Linked DNA regions of Homo sapiens: region 2 is linked to region 1. The links are contacts of gene promoters, found by promoter capture Hi-C in blood cells and fetal thymus (Javierre and others, 2016). All regions are on one chromosome and are shown on one strand. Each heading gives the region's core, a stretch centred on a gene start or on the middle of the fragment in contact. The rest is flanking DNA. Distances are from core to core; before and after follow the strand shown. Region 1 holds the start of OR4D2 (olfactory receptor family 4 subfamily D member 2). Region 2 overlaps HSF5 (heat shock transcription factor 5).

Region 1 (4,588 bases), core at 1,292-3,791:
TTATAACCAGAAGTCATTTATTCATTTAATTTTTTAAAAGTTGTCTTGGGCCACTTTTTAGTTTATAAAAATCTTACTTTTATATGATTCAGAATATCAGTTCTAAAGGTAATATACAGCACAGAAAAGCTGCTTATAATCTACAACACTGACACAAAGGGAAGGAATATAAGTAAAATTTCTTCCAGATTTATCTTACACATGGTTAATCCACAACACCAGGTGCTTAATTGAATTTGTTGAATATGCCCCCATTAAAATGAATATGGCTATATTTATGAGAATTTATGCCTTTAAGACATCTCTTACTGAGGCTATGTTCTCTGAGAGAGAGAGAGAGGAGAGAGAGAGAGAGAGAGAGAGAGAGAGATAAAGGTATTTATTGCAAGGACTTGGCTTACATGATTGTGAAGCTGGCTAGGCAAGTACGTAATCTGCAGGGCAGGCCATCAGCTGAAGTTGCTGTCTACATGCAGAATTTTCCTCCTTCAGGGAAACCTCAGTTCTTCTCTTTAGTTCTTTCAACTGATTGAATCAGGCACACCCAGATGATCTAGGATAACCTCCTTTACTTAAAGTCAACTGATTATAGACATCAATTTTATCTACAAAATACCTTCACAGCAACACCTAGATTAGAGTTTGATTGAATAACTGGAAACTATAGCCTAGTCAAGTTGACACATAACACAGACCATCACAAAGGGAGAATGATTAATTATCAATGATGCTGGGCTTCCTGCATGAGAATTTACATGATATTTCCTCTACACGTGTCCTGTATCCGTTTAGTGGCTTGACATTATAATAGTAGCTAAGTCTGACAAACATTTATTTTCTTAGAAATGTGATACATATAGAAATAATTTTCTCAGCTCAATTTTCCATGACTGAGTCTTTAGCATAATTACTCCATCCAGGCCATTCATACACTGGCAACCATTATACTGGCTAGTGGTTGCAGTAAAGATGAGCTTTGATGGACATTTTACGACCTACCTGTACTTTTGACAGGGGAAATATATAAACTGGAACCTACCAGGTCTCTATTACTGAAAGCTAAATCGGAATCATAAAGAATTAATCCAGGTAATTCAAAATCACCCATCTGAGAGTCAATAACATTAACAAGGCCTGTGCCCATCCCCACCATCAATCTAGACTACTTTCCTGAGTGGCTCAATTTTAAAGTAGACTAAAGCTCCAAATAATGGGAAGAATTTGTGTTTTTTTTAAATTGACATCTCTTGTATGTGAAAGAACGTCACTTCGTGTTCTTATCCCCAGAGGCAGAGTCTTTATTTTGCCAAGTATAAACATTCGCAATGAAAGAACTCAGACCAACCTGAGAACCTCACGTGGATCAGAGAGCTGTGAGAAATCACACAGATTTTACAGCACATCAAGCTTACAGTGTTGGTTAATTCCAATTTTTAATCAGTTCCTCATAATTAGAAAATATATGGGCTTCTTGTGCCAATCCTTGTATTAAAGGGAGTAATAATTGACATGTAAATAATGCTAGCACTTTGTAGATGGTGTGAGTATAATTGATATGGGTAGTGAATCAACTGTGGGGGTATTGGTTGACAAGATGAAGAACAAGATTTATGGGGTAATTAAGTTTTCATTTTAGTATGCAGACATTTTCCCATCCATGACGTTGCCTATGTAAAGATCAATTCAGTTTAAAAGGAGAAGAAATCAAACCAGTTACCTTGACAACACCATGAAAGAGAACTATCCATTGTGCTGAAGAGCAAGTCGTTGGTTCTCAATGTCTGGTCCCTGGAACAGGTGCATCAGCATTATCTGAGAACTTGCTACAAATGCAAATTCTTGGTCTTACCATTGATGTACTGAATGAGAAATTCTGGGCTGGGAACAGAAGTCTGCCTTTTAACAAGGCCTTCAGGTAATTCTCTCAAGGGTAGGTGTCACTGGTCTAAGAAAGAAATTCTCCTAAAACTCTCAGAGTCTCCTTTTTTTTGAAGACCCTCTTGTCCTTTTGGATCTTGGCCTGAATATTACCCATTCCTCAAATCTCTAAAATTTTCAATGTGCTTGGTACTTTGGGCCCCCCAAGGAAGACCTCTCAAAGAGTGTGTGCTTTTGAGACATTTAGAAACTTTTTAACAACTCCCATTGCTCCCTTGGCCCCAGTGATAATCAGCCCAGCTCAGCTTCCTGAGCCCTGTCCAATAGTTTCTCCCAAAGGATATTCCCCCTTCCCCTGGGGTCTCACCCATGGTATTATTCATGAAGTAAGGGCAGGAGCTAAGAAACTGTGAGGCTGAAGCAAAGGATCTCCAAGAAGATGTACACTGAAGCCCCATTCTGGGCTAAAGGGAGGTGAGAGACCAGTGTTTCCTCAGCTGCACAGAGATCAGCTGTAAGAAAGATCTTGCAACACCTGCTAGAGGGTGGGAGTAATAAGCAAGTGACATAGACCTGACGATAGTAAGTCTAAAGGATGAGCAGAGACTCAAGAAAAACTGCAAGGGGAATGTGATGTTGAAAACGGATGCCTCCGATTACATAGGAAAACAACAAAGCACAGAATTCGCCCTATGAGACTTAGAGGGAGGATGCTCACAGCAAAGGACATCAACGGTGAGGAAAATCACAAGATTCTCGACATTGTCACATAAAACAAAGTCACATTTACCTGCTAATATATTAAGTTGGCAAACATTTCTGAGCAAGTGCTAAATCAGAGATGCTGTCATAGACTCTGGGCTTACTAAGTTATTGAATTTACAATCTAGTTAAGAGAAGCAATAGAAAAAATGATAAATGCTATAATGGAGGTATTTATCAAATGCTATTGGAACACAGAGAAATAAGGAATTAATTCTGCATGAGAGAAATGGGGGGAGGAGTCAAAGGGAAAGTGATATTTCTCTTATCGCCTCTAGGTTGAGAAGGTAGCAAAAGGCATTTCAGGAAACAGGATTTATTACCAAAGATATGAAAATAATGAAATATACTGCCTACATGGAAGCTATGAGTTCTTTGAACAGCAATCAGTTCCCAGGTGACAGTGATACTGATTAGAAAGGTATAGGGAGGCTATTTTTTATAGTCTTGTATGAAATGCTGAGAGAGAGTTGCATGCACGTATGTAGGTATGTTTTTCCACCCTCAGTTTATCCACAGAGCATTTTAGGTGGCTTCTGAGAGTTTGAGTTTTAAGCTGTGAGCAAATCAAATATTATAACAATGAGGAATATGATCACATCTGAGTCAGAGGGGTCTCATGGACAGCTGTGTAGAAGGTGTCCTGGAGTGAGGCCAGGCGCGGTGGCTCATGCCTGTAATCCCAGCACTTTGGGAGGCGGAAGCGGGCGGATCACGAGGTCAGGAGATCGAGACCATCCTGCTAACACAGTGAAACCGTGTTACAAAAAAAATTAGCCGGGCGAGGTGGTGGGCGCCTGTAGTTCCAGCTACGCGGGAGGCTGAGGTAAAAGAATGGCGTGAACCCGGGAGGCGGAGCTTGCAGTGAGTGAGCCGAGATCGCGCCACTCCAGCCTGGGCGACAGCGAGACTCCGTCACAAAAAAAAAAAAAAAAAAAAAAAGAAGGTGTCCTGGAGTGGAAGTAAACTGAAGGAGCAGAATAAGATTAGAATGACCTATAATATTGTAGATAATAGATTGCAATAGGCCAGGTAAGAGAGGGTAAGAGAGATTGAGACAGGGCAGGGGGAGGGGGGAGACCACTGACCCCCTCCCCTGTCACCCTCCATCTTCTTCTTCTTTTTTTTTTGTTTTTGATTTTTTGAGACAGAGTCTCGCTCTGTCACCCAGGCTGGAGTGCAGTGGCATGACCTCCACTCACTGCAGCCTCCAACCAGCTTCAAGCGATTCTCCTGCCTCAGCCTCCCAAGTAGCTGAGATTACAGGTGTGTGCCACCACGCCCGGCTAATTTTTTTGTATTTTTAGTACAGATCCGGAGTTTCACCATGTTGGCCAGGCTGGTCTCAAACTTCTGACTTCAAGTGATCCATCCGCCTCCGCCTCCCAAATTTCTGGGACTACAGGCGTGAGCCACCTCTCCCGGCTCCTCCATCTTCTTCTGTCCCTTTAGTCCCGTTTTCTCCACCTCCCCAGCACTTTTCCACTTCCTTTACCTTCACTTGCTCTATTCCTTCATCTCCCTTTATTCCTTTGTCTATTTCTATTTGTTTTCTTTCAACAACTTCCTTTGTCTCCCACCCTTGGATTCAGTAACATCTTGTAAAATTCCTGTTTCATTCAGAAGCTCTCTGAGTCCCCTTCATACAATATTCATCATCTATTTCTCAATCCAATGACTCTCCCTCCCTTTTCTCCCTCTTGTCTCAGCACCACCACATATGCCTCACTCATAAGGGGCCGCCCACAGTGGAGGGCAGGGGAACTACTGGATGTCTCAGGCATCCAGCTGCATCCAGTGTCTTCCTTGTGCTGAACTTGTGCACCTGATAGCTATTCACCCATGCAGCAGTCAACACCAAGAGCTTTTTAAGTTAACTGTCATTAAGAATGGGTACTGCAGGGCACAAATAAATTGTGAGATCCAGATATAGGCTTTGGACTTAATA
Region 2 (4,353 bases), core at 837-3,336, 270 kb after region 1:
ATTTTTAAAAAGTACATTAGTAAGATAAGAATGTATATGGAGAAAAAAAGCAACTCATTCATTTATTTATCCAACAAGGAGTGCCACAGGTAATATTCTAGGTCCTGGGGATACAACAATGGGTAAAACAACCACAGAGAACCAACCTTCTAGAAAGAGTGGGGGTGGGAATTATAGAAAAATAGCAAGTAGTAATAGGCACTGCAGAAGAAAAACAAAGAAGAATAAAGACTGAAGGAGGGCAGGACATGGGGAACAGGGTGCCATTTCAGATGGCATGGTCAGGAAGATTTCTGTGATGATCTGGCATCTGAGCAGAGGACTGAATGAAATGAAGGAACACACCATGTGAAAATCTGGGTGAAAAACATTTCAGGCAGAGACAATAGCAAGTGTAAAGGCTGGAGCATTCTTGGTATGCTTAAACAATAGTGAAGAAACTGCTGGGGCTGGACTAGATGAGGGAGATAGAAGGTGGTAGGGGATGAAGCCAGAACAGTTGCCAGGAGCCAAATCATTCAGCATCTTGAAGACCACAGTAAGGATTCTCAGATTTTCTTCTACATATATATATATAGAAAACTATTAAATAAATTTAGATGGGAAAATAATTACTGATTTAAGAGATCACTCTGGCAGAAAGACTGTAGGGGCCAAGAGCAGAAGCAGAAAAACCTTAAGAAGCTACTGCAGTCATCTAGGCAAGAGAAAGTAGTAGCTTGGACCATGGCGACACCAAATAAAGGAGGTGAGAAATGGTCAGATTCTGGATCTGCATCTACAGTGAGCTGATAAGATTTGCTGATGGACTGGACATGTGAGAGAAGGGAGTCAAGGGAGACTCCAAGAGTTGTGGCTGACCAGATGACTAGAAGTACCATTCATTCATTCATTCATTCATTCATTCATCTGAGACAAGGTCTTGCTCTGTTGCCCAGGCTGGAGTGCAGTGGCACAATCACAGCTCACTACAACCTCTGCCTCCCAGGCTCAAGCAATTATCCCACCTCAGCCTTCCGAGTAGCTGGGACCACAAGCACCTGCCACCAAGCATGTTTTTTGTAGAGACATGGTTTCACCATGTTGGCCAAGCTAGTCTCGCTTAAGCCCAAGTGACCTGCCCACCTTGGCCTCCTAAAGTGCTGGGATTACAGGTATGAGCCACCACGCCTGGCCAATACTATTTATTTATAAGTAAATAAGTAAAATTGGGGAAAAGGTAGAATATATTAAGCTTGGGACACCTACTGGACATCCAAAGACGTAGCGTAGGCAGTAGTGTATACAAGTGAGGTTCAGAGAAGATTGAGACTTAAGATACAGATTTCGGAGACACCACTACAAAGGTGATAATAAAAGCATGAGACTGGTTAAGATTACCTAGGAATTGAATAGAGAGAGAGAAAGAATTGAGCTCTGGGGTTCATCAATATTTAGAAATTAGGAAAGTTGAAGAGTATTCAGTAAAAGAAACTACAGAGTTGGCCAGTGAAAACTAGGAAAGGGAGATGTTCCACAAGCCAGAAGAAAGCATTTCAGGAAGGTTGAAATAATCTGTTCAAATGCTGCTGAGGTGAATTAAGTAAAATACGGACTGATAATTGGCTACTGGATTTGGCAACATGGCAGTCATTGGAAACCTTGACAAATGAAGTTTCAGTTGAGCAGAAGAAAGAAAAATCTGCTTGGAGTAGTTGAAGTAAGGATATGCTTCCAAGGAGCTTTGCTCTAAGGAAAGCAGAAAAAGTAGAGGAATAGCTACATGGAGGTATGAAGGAAAGGTCAAAGGGATTTTTTTTTTTTTTTTTTTTAGATGGAGCTTCACTCTTGTCGCCCAGGCTGAAGTGCAGTGGCGTGTTCTTGGCTCAGTGCAACCTCCGCCTCCCGGATTCAATTGATTCTCCTGCCTCAGCCTCCCGAGTAGCTGGGATTACAGGCGCATGCCACCCCGCCTGGTTAATTTTGTATTTTTAGTAGAGACGGGGTTTCACCATATTGGCCAGGTTGGTCAAGAACTCCTGACCTCAGGTGATCCACCCGCCTCAACCTCCCAAAGTGCTGGGATTACAGGCGTGAGCCACTGTGCCTGGCCCAAAGGGATTTTTAAAACATAGAACCTATGACGACATGTTTGCATGCTGATGGGAATTATCTAACATAAAAGATAAAATGTTAGGCCGGGCGTAGTGGCTCATGCCTATAATCCCAGCACTTTGGGAGGAAATCGAGACCATCCCGGCCAACAAGGTAAAACTCCATCTCTACTAAAAATACAAAAATTAGCTGGATGTGGCAGCGCGTGCCTGTAATTCCAGCTACTTGGGAAGAGGCTGAGGCAGGAGAATCGCTTGACCTGGGAGGCGGAGGTTGCAGTGAGCCGAGATCTTGCCACTGAACTCCAGCCTGGCAACAGAGCTAGACTCCATCTCAAAAAAAAAAAAAAGATAAAATGTGGCCAGGCACTGTGGCTCACTCTTATAATCCCAGCACTTTGGAGGCCAAGGCAGGAGGATCACTTGAGACCAGGAAATCAAGACAACCTGGGCAACATGGCAAGACCCTGTCTCTATAAAAATTAAAAAAATTAGCTGGGCATGGTGGCATGAGCCTGTGGTCCCAGTTACTCAGGAGGCTGAGATGGGAGGATTGCTTGAGCCGGGAAGTCGAGGTTGCAGTGAGCTGTATTCACACCACTACACTCCAGCGTGGATGACAGAGGAAGACTCTGCCTTAGGGGGAAAGCAAAAATAAAGATACAATGTGATTATTGAAGAGTAAGGGGGATAGCAGTAGGTCCTAAGTCTGTGAGTACACCAAAGGGGACAGGATTCTGTATACAAATGAAAGGACTGGCCCTTTTCCATTATAACAGAAGGAAAGGCAGCGTGTAGGGTTACAATTGGAAGTAGACTGATAAATATGTTGGTGGGAAGATATGAAAGCTTCATTCTAGCTGCTTCTATTTTCTCAGTAAGATATAAAACAGGGTCACAGCCACGAATGAAGAGAGAGGAGGAGTGTTGGAAACGGAGCAGAGAGGACAGGATATAATAGAGTGGCTTTGGAGAATGGGGAATATATTGACTAGAAAATATTATAGGACTGCTGCAACACTGACAGCCTACGTGAATTTAAAGTGAGACTAAGGCGGGGTGCAGTAGCTCATGCCTGTAATCCCAGCACTTTGGGAGGCCAAGGTGGGTAGATCACCTGAGGTCAGGAGTTCAAGACCAACCTGGCCAACATGGCAAGACCCCATCTCTACTAAAAATACAAAAATCAGTTGTGTGGTGGCTCATGCCTGTAGTCTCAGCTATTTGGGAGGCTGAAGCACGAGAATCGCTTGAACCCAGGAGGCGGAGGTTGCAGTGAGTCGAGATCACGCCACTGCACTCCAGCCTAGGCAACAGAGTGAGATTCCAGCTCAATAAATAAACAAATAAATAAATAAATAGAGACTAGCCATCTGAAAAGTAACCAGTGGTAATAAACATAAGAACAGTAAATATTGGCTGGGCGCTGTGGCTCATGCCTGTAATCCCAGCACTTTGGGAGGCTGAGGCGAGCAGGAGATCGAGACCATCCTGGCTAACATGGTGAAACCCCATCTCTACTAAATATACAAAAAATTAGCCGGGCATGGTGGCGGGCGCCTGTAGTCCCAGCTACTCGGGAGGCTGAGGCAGGAGAATGGTGTGAACCTGGGAGGTGGAGCTTGTAGTGAGCCAAGATCACGCCACTGCACCGCAGCCTGGGCGACAGAGCGAGACTCCATCTCAAAAAAAAAAAAAAAAAAAAAGTAAATGTTATAAAAATAGCTAAAATTCTATTGCTACTATGTATGGACTACTTACTATGTAACCCAGCATAATACTAAGCCAGTTCTATGATTTATATCATTATAATCCATATTCCTCATTTTGCAGATGAGGACACCAAAGCTCAGTTAGGTAAACACGTCCAAGGTCACACAGTAAAGAGCAGAATCCAGGTTTTAATGCAGGTTTTTCTAACACCAAAAGCTTTCTTTCTAACCATATGCTGTACTGTTTTTAATGAGCAGTATATTAATCTCACACATTGACTTTGGTTAAGGTCTCTTAATGCCATGGGACCTTACATATAGCCATGTTTTCATAGACCAACTGCTAGGCCAAGGTCTATCAGAGCAGAATCATTTGCAACTTCATGAATTGTATTTCTGCCTACACTTTAATTAAAAAACTTTTTTTTTTTTTAGCAGAGAGGTTCTAGCTTAATCATAACTCATTTTCCTCTTGTCCATAATAAAATGAAAATGTGATTAGGTGTCATAATGATGCCAAGATTTCACAACTCTTATGTTTCACAGCA

The links. The method cuts DNA at HindIII sites, captures the fragments that hold promoters and counts their contacts. A CHiCAGO score of 5 or more calls a contact.
Region 2: a fragment that was not itself captured here is called in contact with the fragment with the promoter of OR4D2 in region 1 in 1 of 17 cell types (M1 macrophages); the score reaches 5.2 in M1 macrophages.

The regions. Positions count from the first base shown.
Region 1 is chr17:58,164,441-58,169,028 of GRCh38, forward strand. OR4D2 (olfactory receptor family 4 subfamily D member 2) reads left to right here and starts at 2,542. Exons shown (of 2, transcript NM_001004707.4): 1 at 2,542-2,613. The HindIII fragment of the contact is 4,615 bases long and covers 1,406-4,588 here.
Region 2 is chr17:58,432,121-58,436,473 of GRCh38, forward strand. The region is part of intron 5 of HSF5 (heat shock transcription factor 5); the gene reads right to left. Among named protein-coding and RNA genes, the nearest start is that of RNF43, 17 kb to the left of the region's middle. The HindIII fragment of the contact is 1,708 bases long and covers 1,233-2,940 here.